Linked DNA regions of Homo sapiens: regions 2 and 3 are each linked to region 1. Evidence: promoter capture Hi-C in 16 types of primary human blood cells and fetal thymus (Javierre and others, 2016). All regions are on one chromosome and are shown on one strand. The core of a region is centred on a gene start or on the middle of the fragment in contact, and the rest is flanking DNA. Distances in the headings are between cores, read along the strand shown. Region 1 holds the start of ATL2 (atlastin GTPase 2). Region 2 has its middle 46 kb from the start of QPCT. Region 3 holds the start of ARHGEF33 (Rho guanine nucleotide exchange factor 33).

What was found. The method cuts DNA at HindIII sites, captures the fragments that hold promoters and counts their contacts. A CHiCAGO score of 5 or more calls a contact.
Region 2: a fragment that was not itself captured here is called in contact with the fragment with the promoter of ATL2 in region 1 in 1 of 17 cell types (monocytes); the score reaches 5.1 in monocytes.
Region 3: a contact is called between the fragment with the promoter of ARHGEF33 here and the fragment with the promoter of ATL2 in region 1, in 7 of 17 cell types (total B cells, M2 macrophages, activated CD4 T cells and 4 more). The highest score is 11.9, in total B cells.

The regions. Positions count from the first base shown.
Region 1 is chr2:38,374,719-38,379,027 of GRCh38, forward strand. It overlaps ATL2 (atlastin GTPase 2), which reads right to left and starts at 2,555. Exons shown (of 13, transcript NM_001135673.4): 1 at 2,425-2,555. The coding sequence starts at 2,542. RefSeq lists enhancers at 1,647-2,148, 2,149-2,648, 2,475-2,724 and silencers at 1,975-2,474, 2,695-2,854, 2,925-2,974. The HindIII fragment of the contact is 2,426 bases long and covers 1,142-3,567 here.
Region 2 is chr2:37,388,239-37,392,547 of GRCh38, forward strand. No RefSeq gene overlaps it. Among named protein-coding and RNA genes, the nearest start is that of QPCT, 46 kb to the left of the region's middle. RefSeq lists an enhancer at 1,866-2,055. The HindIII fragment of the contact is 1,011 bases long and covers 1,690-2,700 here.
Region 3 is chr2:38,888,082-38,892,390 of GRCh38, forward strand. ARHGEF33 (Rho guanine nucleotide exchange factor 33) reads left to right here and starts at 1,794. Exons shown (of 18, transcript NM_001145451.5): 1 at 1,794-1,905. The HindIII fragment of the contact is 7,511 bases long and covers 1-4,309 here.

The DNA.
Region 1 (4,309 bases), core at 1,305-3,804:
CTAGTTAATCAGTCTCCCCGTACTCTTAGCAGCTAGCTGCCTAATACCAACTGTGGAAAAAGCCTAATTTTGGAAAAGGTCTAACAATTTCAAGAAAGTTACTTATACTTGTGAATATTCCAAAACTTTAAAGTTACAATACAGTCACAGAAAAACGAATCCTGAAATACACCTATGTGCACTCGACTTAAGGCCATAATCTTATTTTCACTCAGGGTTTCTTTTCCCTATAATATCTTTACTGTAAGGCAGCTACTTCTCCCTAAATAATTTCGAAGAATTTCAAAACACTTTACTAAATAGATTTAATCATATCTACAGAATCCTATCAACTTAAAAAGCCAATAAAATGAGTACTTATTTGCTTTCTAAAGATCCTACATTCCTAAAAGAATAAACACAAAGCCTCTCCCTAACACTAAACTACTCAAGTGACACTTGACCCCAACTTGGTTTTTGAAGCTATTTCTCCAGGAAGCAGAGGGAGACAAAGAGTTTCTACACAGTCAAAAATAGATGAGTCCTTTTCATTCAGTCTGTTTCTTCTCACTTTAAACACAAATCCTACCAAGCTCATTTAGTTTTTAACTCATTAATGAGTGACTCGGAGCAAATTAGCAGGTACAGGGACTGTTTTAGGCAATCATTTGCTAGGAATGGCTATCAAGTGAAGGTCTTGCTGATCCGTCCTAAAAAACAAAGGACAAAAACCTATGAGTAGCAGACAAAAGCATTTATTAAATAATAAATGGTGGGCCCTATTTCAACAACAATCTGAAGAGTATCATCTCTTCTCAAGATACCACAGCACAACAACGTTCACAACCATAACTGAAGTATAAATTTATGTTTCTTCTAATAAGGTAAATACATAGAATATTTTGAAACTGCATCTAAAACTCTTACCTCAAAAAAAGGAAAGAAAGAAAGAGAAAGAAAGAAAAGAACACACACTTCTTCCCCTAGGGTCCAACCAAAAGAGCGAAATTAATCCATCCGCATTCCAAAACAATTAATTACTTAAGAAATCCAACCAGCACACATCTAAGGCGAAGCTGCTTCTTTGGTAGTTTTTTATTCTACAGAGTGCTACCACTGTACAAACAGTCAAGCGTTTTGGTTGGCAGACAATAATAAAATAAGCTTTATTTCCTTTTCTTCTTCCCTTAGCAAAACTCCAGTCTGTCATCACCTCTGACATGCGCCAAGAACTACCAGGAATGATGAAGTATATTTCAAATAAACTTTCCTATTAAAGTGAGTCCTTGTGGTTAACATCATACCAAAATGCTTTACATTTTATCCAGCAAAACCTTTACACACCGTAAAAAAAGAAATCTTAAGACACGAGCTCGTATCTGTATTTAATAATAAACTCTTATCTTGGCCGTACTTACCAAATCGTAGGCTTTTACTATTTATAAGCCTTTGAAAAAACTTTATGCCTTTCTTAAGTACCATCAAAATTTTCAATCAGGATTTCATGCGATCAATTCGCACCACAGTGAGAGATCAAACGCTAAACTCCTATAAATAGGGGTGTTATGAGTGAGAGGGATACACTGCGCTGCCAACGCAACTGCGTCTTCGAGGGGGCAGGGGCGCTCCTGGTACACGTACAGTAGGAGCTCACATTCAGCAAAACCAGGGAGCCAAGGATCAGGTGACTTCACACTACAGACACTTTCAGAGTGATCAGGCCTTACTATCGTCCAAGTGACTCGTAAACGGCTCATAACCCCAGTTTGACACGAAAATCTAGACTTGCACCCTAGCCACGCACAACCCGCGCGAATGGGTTCGGGAGCCGAGGAGCCCCGAAACGCGAGCCCGGGGACAGAGCCCTGGCCTGCGGACTGCGGTTCCCTCCAGGAAGGGTGTCTAAGGAGCTTTCGGACCCGGCAGCAAGGTGTCTGCTCCCCGCGCGACCTCCTCCTCCGCGGGGCCCATCATGCCCTGGCCACCCCTTCCTCCCTGTCCGCGTAAGGGACAGCGAACGCCCACCAGCTAACGGGTCGCCCCGCCGCGTCCGGAGCTCGCCGGACGGAGCGGAGCCGCAGCCGACCTCCCCGCGCCCCGGGCAGGCGGCCACGGCTCAAGGCCGCCCCCTAAGGTCGGGGCGGACACGGCGGCAGCCACGCGGCGGGCTGGCGGGCAGGGGGCCGGGCCGGTCGCAGACGCGCGCGCCACTGGTTCTCCCAGCAGCTACTGGAGCCGCGGCCCACGAGCCGCCCTTTCAGGCCGCGCGCTGCGGGAGCGCGGGGCGCGGCTGAGGCTAGGCCCGGCGGGCAGGCGCGGCGGCGGGAGGAGACCTGAACCAGCCGCGGACTCCGACCCCGCCGCCTGCGGCCGGTGCCCGCGAGCCCGAGCAGCGAGCGTCTCTCCCCATCAGGGCCCCGCGGCCTCTGCCTCGCTGGCCCGTACCTAGGGAGGTCGTGGACGAGACGTGGTTAACCGCGGCGCTTGGGTCGCTGGTCCGTCGCCGGCGCCACAGCCCCTGGTGCGGTTGCTGCCCTCGCGCTGCCTCGTCCCCCTCCGCCATCTTGTACCGATTTAAAATTAACTCCCCACTGACGTCAAACGCCGCCGCCGCTTTATCAACCTCCCGGGAGCCGGCGGGGTGGCCGGCGGGTCCTAGCGCCGCTCTCCGCCTGTATCTCCTCGCCCTCCGCCTGTATCTCCTCGCCCTCCGCCTGTATCTCCTCGCCCTCCCTCCGCCCCCGCCCCGCCCATCGCTCGCTCGCTCCGCCCTCGCCCTGCCCGCCTGCAGATCCGTCTCCCCGGCTCCAAGTTTCTGGTTGGACTGGGGCGGGGGTGTCCCTGCCGCCGCCGTCTCACACCCCCACCTCCCTGAGCTCAGCACCACACCCCCTTAGCGCTGGGCCAGGCTCTGCAAACGCAGAAGGGAGCTCCAGAGAACTAAGTCCCTCCCTCCCAATTCGCTTTACATCTCTAATCGTTGATTCGTGCGTCCTGCACGTGAGGTGGCTTTCGCACCCCTTCTCTCCTTTTCATCGCCCCCTCCTCATCACAGCCATTCCCCTCCTCTCTCCCCATCCACCCCCCAAGTTGTTGCCAGTGCCCTGCTTTTCCTCTTGATCTTTTCTTTCCTCACCCAAGTCCCTACTGTTGCTTCCCCTCCCCCCCACCATCCTAAGGTTTGTTTGCATTCGCTCCCCATCTACTTATGAGACCTTCCCCCATCTTCTCAACTGTGTATACCCTGGCCCTGTGCTCCTAGCACCTTGCAGAGGCATGCCAGAAAGCACTCTAATCGGAAAATGAATCGTGGCAGGTTCTTACCTAATTGTGATGAACCTTCTTCTGGGGATCCAGTGACATCCAGTAGAAAGTTCAGGTCACTTTTTAAATTACAAGTCAGCCCGTGGAGGCGTCTGTGAAACATGATCCCTTTGGATTTTTACCATACTGCCAGCTGCATTAGAAATTCCTCTTCTCCAGTAAAAACAGATGTCCGGGTGTACAAACAGCTGTTTTGTCCAGGTCTTTTCATAAGTCTAAAATTCACAGCATGCACAATCTCTAGAAAAGCACTGGTGTTATTAAAGCTTTCAAAATACCATTCTAGGTAGGGCATGGTGGCTCACGCCTCCCGGGTTCAAGCAATTCTCTGCCTCAGCCTCCGGAGTAGCTGGGATTACAGTCCCCCGCCACCACACCCTGCTAATTTTTGTATTTTTATAGACACGGGATTTCACCATCTTGGCCAGGCTGGTCTTGAGCTACTGACCTCGTGATCCACCCGCCTCAGCCTCCCAAAGTGCTGGGATTACAGGCGTGAGCCACTGCGCCCGGCCCATCCAAATATATTTCAACAGAATATGGAGTTTGTCATCATTGTCACATAAATCTAGGAGAATAACTATATACGTGTTCTTGGCAATATTCTTTGAGTTACTAAGATTCTAGTTCTGGGACTTGAACCACCTCCACAATCTAAAGTACAGTTACCCTTCCCCCTCGTTCATATTGATGGCAGGATCTTTATCAACTTGTTAAGTGATATTCCTCTTACGTCCTTGTGATATATGATTTGGAGAGCTCACTTTGTCAAGACATTTTCTGTTTTATCATTGGCCTGAAAAACGTAGTATTGAAAAGGAAGAAAAAGAAGAAGCAGAAGCAGAAGAAGGAGGAGGAGGAGGAGAAGAAGGGCAAAAAAATCTTCACGAGGATTGTTCTACAAAGATTTATTTACTGTCATTTACTCACTAAAAAACATTTGCTTAGGCACATAGAAAAAAGAAACCATTTACAAACAGCACAGCATAGGCCATTTGCTAAATTA
Region 2 (4,309 bases), core at 945-3,444, 990 kb before region 1:
GATGATTCACTGAAGCCAGGATGGTTCACTTGTAAGTCACCTGGTAAGTCCCACTCATCTGTGGCAATCCTTTGGTACCTCTTGCTTTGAATCTGCTCTTGATCTTGCTTCTGCTTCCTCCTCTCTCACCTGTGATATGCAACAGCCTCCCAATTGGACTCCCTGCAGCATTCCACCCTGCTTCATTCTAGACTTCATGCAACAGTCAGAGAAATGTTTTAAACACATTAATCAGGTCTCATTGCTATGCTGCATAAAACCCTGTGATGGTTTTTCACTGCACTGAGAATTAATATGAACTCCTTAACTATGGCTTACTATGGCCTACAAGGCCCTCCCCACTCAGAAACTCAACAATCTTTTTTTTTTTTTTTTTTTTTGAGACAGAGTCTCACTCTGTTGCCCAGGCTGGAGTGCAGTGGTGCAATCTCGGCTCACTTCAACCTCCACCACCTGGGTTCAAGCAATTCTCCTGTCTCAGCCTCCTGAATAGCTGGGATTACAGGCGCCCAACATCATGCCGGGCTAATTTTTTTTTTTGTATTTTTTGTAGAGACAGGGTTTCACCATGTTGGGCAGGCTGGTCTCAAACTCCTGACCTCAGGTGATCCACCTGCTTCAGCCTCCCAGAGTGCTGGGATTCTAGGCGTGAGCCACCGTGCCTGGCCCAGAAACTCAACATTCTACCACTCTTTCCCTCCCTCTCTGGCCTAAAATGCCATTGCCCTCTTTTGTTCCTTGAACTTACTAAGCAGTCCCCTGCCATAGGGAGGCTTCTGGACATCCTTATCCTCCACATGGGATTCTCCTTTAGTCCCGATTTACATTGCTGTCTCTTTCTTGGCCTTCTCACAGAGGCTGTTCCTCACATCCTCTTATCCAGAATAGGTCCTTCCCTGTATATTTCTATCTCAGCACTCTACTCATTTCTTTCTTTTTTCTTATCACAACTTGTCATTACAATATTGTTTTACTATGGGTGGGGGGCAGCCTGTTTTCATGATCAAATTGTAGGTTTCATGAGGGCAAGGACTATGTCTATGTTTTTCATCATTGTATTCCCAGCAACTTGGAGATATTTGTGTGTGTCAGAGGTTTAATACATACTTGGTGATTAAACAAATATTCAAGAACTGATCCAGCTTCTATTTCTCTGGCTTCAGGACTTGCCTCAAATGTCCCTTTATCACAGGCCTTCTCCAACTACCCTATATAAAATGTAACAGTGTATCTCCTGGCTTTTACTCTTGATTGTGGTGAGAGATTTGGTATCCTTGGTCTGGGCCTTTTGTGTTCTCTAAGAACCTGGTTTGCCCTCTGCCTCTTGGCTCTACTGGCTGCCATGAGCATCTACACCTCCCAGCTCCAGCTCTCAGGGCCCCTGTCCTCATTCAAGGCCTGCCCTGCTTCATCCTGGAGGAGATGGGGCAAACTCAGATACAGAGAGCTTTAGCAACTTGTTCAAGTTTATACAATAATGAAGATTGGGCCAGAAGTCAGGTTTTGGGATTTGCACCCAGTCTCATGCCTTTTCACTCTATTATGCTAATCCTGTATCTCTGTTTCAAATCGAAGTGACTCATTTTGAGTTTTCAGATGAACACTCCAAGTATTATGGAGTACCTGGTTATTTGAAGTAAAAAAAAAAAACAAAAAACCAAGAATTGAAGCTTCTAGCTAGACAAACAAAGCTTGAAGCACCAGACAGCTATTGAAGACCAAATCTACCCACAGGGCTGGAATTAGGCACCGAGGGAACAGATGCAGGGAGAGATCCAAGCTCACAGCCAGGAGCCAGATGCTGGGTGTAAGCTGTCTGTGCCTGTCCTCCTTTCCCAAGGCCCGCCAAAGGGAGGCTCTGAGCTTCAGAGTGGGGATCTAGACTTCAGTTGCCAGTAGGTTCTGAAAGTGCTGCCCTCAGGGAAATGGTGACTTAGAAACAGAACTGCAACAAGTTTCAGTTGAACTCCAGGGAATTCCCTAGGTATGCCTCTTGCCTCCTCCTCATCTCTCTCCTTCAAAAGAAGGACATTTGAGGAAGTCCCAGGGAAGAGAGATGAGAAATATGGTTATGAAATAAAGAGAAATGAAGAACCACAGTATGGAGTACTTTTCTGCATTGGGTAGGATTTGTGGGTGAGACAGAGAATTGGGTGGAGGGCAGAAGGCCAGAAGGAGTAGGCAGAGGAAGGAGGGGGTGTTGAACCTCCTTCAGGCATCGAGCGAGAAACCTGACCTCGGAATAGTCACACTTGATCTCCTTTTGGCTTCTGTGTACCAGCAAAGCCTTTAGGTTTAGTCTGTTTCCTCTGTGGCAGAAAAGGAAGCCCAAGACAATTTGCATAGGCAGCTCTCAAGCAAAGCCTCCCTCAAAGAGTTTCTGACTCATCCCCATGACTTCCTCCCCCATCTGTCAACAGGGGAAACTCCAGGTGGGAGGTTACATTTCCTGCCTCCCTGTTATGGACTAGTTTCCTTCCTGGGAGGTGAGGCAGAAGTGGAGGGGACTTTCTCCCTCCTCATCATCCCATGCCTTCTCTCTTCTCCCGGTTCCTCTCTATCAAACTCTATGTTCCCATTTTGAGCTGAGAATAAGGAACAGCAGAGTTGATTAGAAACATTTTAAAATCAAGTGATTAAACTCTGATAATGGCAGAATTTCAAACATGAGTCAGTATGTAAATCCAATTGTAAAGATGAAGCTTTGAAGATATTTCTGTGTTCTCAGAACCTCAGAAGTTAATTCCTAGACATTGCTTCCTCCTAAGGGCAACTTCAGCACATGGTCCACAAGGATATAGGGCAGGATCCTCATAGAGGTAGTGGGCTACATGTCTCAAGTTGTAGGATGCTCTGGGTCCTCAAGTCTATCTATCCTCTTCCTCGAGTTCTGCACATCATCTTCTACATGCTGCTGGGCTCCTGAAAGCAGCACAACACCCTGACGGGGAGCTTGTTTGAGCATTCATTCTTTCTGTGTTTTGATAGTGTTAGGTAGGCCACCATCTGTGGGTTCTGTTTAGATCCACAGTTCTTCCTCTGGACATGGGATGTATCAAAGCAGGAAAGAGGCTGCCCATCTGAGCTTTTCATGATGTCGCGGCTGTGGCTCTGGCTGTTACCAGAGCTATACAGGAAACCCAGGGAGAGGGCTTGAAATGGTTGGGCATCAGGTATAAAGAAAAAAGCACTCAGAAGTATGGAATTTGTTTACATTGGTTCAGGGAACCAAAGAAGATTCGAGAATAGAATGTTCTGTCCTGTGTGCCCACTGAAATTAGAATTGTATGGGATTTTCCTCCAACACCCTGGTGGCTATTTTCCAGTGTCTTTTGCTGATTCCTCTTCATCTTCAGACTTGTCAAGTTTGAAAGGCTCTAAGACTCAGTTCTTGTTCCTCTTCATTTCTCCATCTCAGTCCATTGTTGACCTCATCCAGCTTCAAGTCTTTAAATACCATGTATATGTTGGCAACTCCTGGAGCTCTCAAATGTTTTCTAGACTTGTATGTACAACGGCCTACTGAACAGTTCTACTTGAAGGTCAGATTCAGCAAGTTCCCACTGAACTCCTGGTCTCCTCCCCACAAATCTGCTTCAGACATTGTTGGATGGCAGTAGCTCCAACCTTCCTGTAGCCCAAAACATAGGAGTCATTCTTTTTATTGAGACATAATCTCGCTCTGTTGCTCAGGCTGGAGTGCAGTGGTGCAATCACGGCTCACTGCAACCTCCGCTCCCTGGATTCAAGCAATTCTCCTGTCTCAGCCTCCCTAGTAGTTGGGATTACAGGGGTGTGCCACCAAGCCCGGCTAATTTTTGTATGCTTCGTAGAGACAGGGTTTTGCCATGTTGGCGAGGCTGGTATCGAACTTCTGACCTCAAGTGATCCACCCACCTCGGCCTCCCAAAGTCCTGGGATTATAGGTGTGAGCCACCATGCCTGGCCTTGGAGTCATTCTTGATTCTTCTATTTCACATCCCACACCCAGTCAGAAGGTAGCCTGGCCAGGTCTATCTTCCAAATACATCCAGAATCCAATCACCTTCTACCACCCCCATTGCTGCTGCACTGGGTCCAAGCCACCATTATCTCTTACCTTGATAACTTTAACAGCCTCTTATCAAGGCTTCCTGGTTCTACCCTTGCCCCCTTCAGTCTATTCTTCATGCAGCAGGAAGAGCGGTTCTTTAAGGAATTAGGTCCCGTCATGTCACTCCTCTACTCAAAGCCCTGCAATAATTCCTTATCTCATTCAGAATAAATGCCCTTACAGTGGTCTGATTGGTCCTCTGTGATCTGTCCTTGA
Region 3 (4,309 bases), core at 544-3,043, 510 kb after region 1:
TCACAAGAGAATGATGCAAGAAGGTGCCATCTTTGAAGAAGAGAGCAAGTCCTTACCAGACACTAAATCTGCTAGTGCCTTGATCTTGGACTTAACAGCCTCCAGAACTGTGAGCAATACATTTCTGTTGTTTAAAATTACCCTGTCTAAGGTATTTTCTTATAGCAGTTCAAATGGACTAAGACATGTATAATAGCCCCAACTGGAAACAATCCAAATGTCCATCAACTAATGAATGTGTAAACAAAATGTCCACATAATGGAATATTATTCAGCCATAAAAAATGAAGTACTGATACTACAACATGGATGAACTTCAGAAACATTGTACTGGCCAGGCAGGTGGCTCATCCTGTAATCCCAGCACTTTGGGATGCCAAGGTGTGTGGATCGCTTGCCAGGAGTTTGAGACCAGGCTGGGCAGCATGGCAAAATCCCATCTCTACAAAAAATACAAAAATTAGCCAGGTGTGGTGGCACATGCCTATAGTCCCAGCTACTTGGGAGGACTGCTTGAGCCCAGGAGGCAGAGGTTGCAGTGAACCAAGATCATGCCACTGCACTCCAGGATGGGTGACAGAGCAAAACTTCATCTCAAAAACAACAAACAAACAAACATTGTACTAAGTGAAAGGAACCAGTCACAAACGGCCACATATTATATGATTCCATTTATGTGAAATGCTCTGAATAGGCAAATCCTTAGGGACAGAAAATAGATTAGTGGTTGCCAGGGGAGGAAGAAATTGGGAGGCATGAGGTTTCTAGAATTAGACAGTGGTGATGGTTGCACAGTCTTGAAAATGTACTAAAAACCACTGAATTGTTCATTTAACAGGGACAAATTTTATGTATGATGTGTAAATTATGTCTCAATTTCTTAAAAAGTAGATCTGTGTGTTGTCATATATTCTATGTCCAGAAAACTTCTTTACTTTTTACATAAGATAATTTAAAAATTACCAGAGCAGTATATGTCAACTACATTTAAAAAATTACAATAAAGACCTGAATGTTTTTGCTGAAACTCTATATTCTAAAACTGACAAAAAATAGTGTACACAATAGATAACTTCTTTGTCATATTTCTCTATTCAAAATCTTGTGAATATTTGTATTTCTCAATATGTTATTGCCAAAAGATGTATATTTTTATTTTTTGCTGTACTGGCACAAATTTGGGTTACAATGTCTTCTAAAATGTTAAAATAAAAATGGCATTTTTGTTAGTTTCTCATAATAATAGCTTTATGGCTAATTTTGAAAGACCCTATTTGTAAGTTTTCAAAGACACATTTTAAGAATTGGACATTTTTGTATATGTTGCTAAACATTAGCTGGCATGGCTTTAGAATTAAATATTATTATTATATGGAAATTCATGAAGAGACAAATACTGGACAAGTTAAGATAAGGTGAGAAGATGTTTTCAGGGACCAGGACATATAATTTAAATTCAAAAACTTCTGGAAAATATAGAAAAGTATCTGCTTTGCTGCAAAATAAATTTTCCCTAATTTTTTTCAATTTATTTAAGGCAGCAAGATATATATTTTACTCTTAAAATATTTAACTTGTATTGCTATGTTAATAACTTTTCAAAGTACAACTTTTCAATTTTCTAGTATACCAAAGATATTCCTCCTAAATGGGTTTCTTCCTTTTTACTCATTGAAACTAAATGCAGTTCAGTTATTTGATTAGTTGATGCTAGAATTTGACCTGGAGCTTATATAATTAGAAGAGACACTAGTTTTCCTCATTTAAAAGCCTGGTTAGCATACTACGGTCTCGTTTCAGGGGAAGTCAAGCCTCTCTACTGCTTCTTTTTATAACCTTTAAGTTAATTCAGAACCCAGATAAGCCTTGATCTGAGGATGATATAACCACCGCAGGCAACATGGGGTAAGTATGCGCTTTTATATGCTTTAAGGGGCACTGAAAGGGGAAACAATTTTATAAGAGATGAAAACCCATCAATCCTTACCACGTGGTGTACTAATTTAAATCCAATATATGCTAACATTTATTTGAGGTAGGCATTCAAAGAAATAACTTTTATTTAAGAGTTATAACAATTTGTAAAACATTTATTTCCTTGCTTAATTTTTATATTATGTCTTAACTGCGCTTTGCAGGTTATCGATAAACTGGAGACTGAAGTTGTTCTGCATATTAATAAATATAGTTGAAGATGAGTTAAATTTTGAGAGCAGTCTTAAAGAAAGGATGCTAGACAGCGTAAATCTGACATGGACATGCCTCTTTGGGATTAAGAATAATTAAAGAATGAAAAAGATTAGGGATGGAGGGAGATTGGTTTATTCCTTTCTAACACAGAAAAAGAATAGGGGAATCTTCAGCATTCACTCCCCTATGTACAGAACAAAAAACATATCCTGATTGAAAATGTGTACTGATTAATTACATGGGGGCTTTATTGGTGAAACCTAATTCTAAACACTTCATGGGGCTTTGGTGTGTAATGAGAAGAACTGAGTTTCACTTAAACATTGTCTTAAGTGAGAATAGCGTTCTATTATAATTAGTATTGGAATTATGTGAGTTTTTATATGCTGAAATAGTATTCTGAATATGTAGAAATCTCTATATCACCCTTTTATATTTTTAATAGCCCCTTTTAATACAAAATCATATTGCTGTAAATGGAATAGCTATTTCATTGAAGGCTACTTCTGAAGGATTCAACATAATGATCAGAAATGTATCCTAGAGAAAAAAGTTTTTGATGCACATTTATTCTAAACATTTTTCACAAACTGAATTAATTAATGTCTACATTTTTCATAACCATGGGCTCTGGAAATGCAATCTAAACTCATTTGAAAACTCAGAGGCTTTTGAAACAAGATGACCATACTATTGGTTTTTTTTTTTTTCTTTTTTCTTTTCTTTTTTTAGACAAGGTCTCACTTTGTCACCTGGGCTCAAGCAATCCTCCCACCTCAGCCCCCACAGGTAACTGAGACCACAGGTGCACACCACCACACCCGGCTAATTTTTGTATTTTTTGTAGAGATGGGGTTTCGTCATGTTGCTCAGGTTGGTCTTGAACTCCTGATCTCAAGCAGTCCTCCCACTTCAGCCTCCCAAAGTGCTGGGATTACAGGTGTGAGCCACCATGCTCGGCCTTATTGTTAACTTTTTCTTAATTCCCTTTATTTACCTTCCCTTTTCTCTGTGTATAAGGGTGTACTTCAACATAGCAGGCCAGTAATAAACTAAGTAATGTAGATACAAAGATCAACTGATCTTCCTCCTTCCCTTCCTCTCTCCTTTCCTCCCTTCCTCTCTCCCTCTTCCTTCCTTTCTTTTTCTTTAATGACAGCAGTTCTTAACCTTTTCGGTGTCAAGAATTGCTTTTAGAATCTTCAGAAACCAGTCCACCATTTCTGCAAAAAAAAAAGTAAAATCACACAAAATTTTGCATACAATTTCAGAAGATTTACAGGTGACCTGAAACCCTATTCCTGGGACCACAGGTTAAGACCCTTAGACTTTGATTTTAGGACTGGAGTATGATTTGTTCAATATTTCTCTTTGTTTGGATTTTTATAAATGTAAGAATCTTTAAATTCATAATTCTTGCTAATCTTCTCAAGGACAGTGTGGAAGATTCCCCACCCGCCCCCCACACAATTTACATGAGTGTGAAACACAGTTTAACCAACATGCATCACATTACTGCTGCTGGGCCCCAAGGACTTGACTAATCACTTGTGCCTTTTGAGAGTGCCAGGAATCACCTTGGGAGTCATGGAAGGAAAAAAAACCCTCATTATGTTATTTGTAAAGCACTTTGAATGCCCCAAATAAGATGAACGAAACAAATCATAAATGCTAATATTACAGAGAGCACTCTTCTGATTGGTATGTTCATGATTATTTTGTTGTCTGTTCATGCCTTTACTGACAAAAAGACAGGGTAGTAAGTATTAACATCTGTTTGAGTCTTCCTAAAATAATCAGAAAAATAAAGAAAAAGTGGCAGCTAATCGGATTCTCAAATTTATCCATTTGAGGAAATCTCTAGAATTTATTTCCTGAGAATGAGGGAGTAGCTGTTTTGGATTTGTCTTTGGGGCCTACTTATCTCAAATGATTTGAGGATATAATTCCCTTATATGGGGCAATGCCAGCCCTTTCCACCTTTCCCCAGGCTATGCTGGCATGGTTTTAGCAAGCAATGAAGAAGCAAATACTGGAAAATTCTTATGCTCTCTAAAAAAATCTCCTCCTCGTAATTTTCACTGGGTTTTTTATGGAGTGTGTGAGTAGGTGGGGTGGG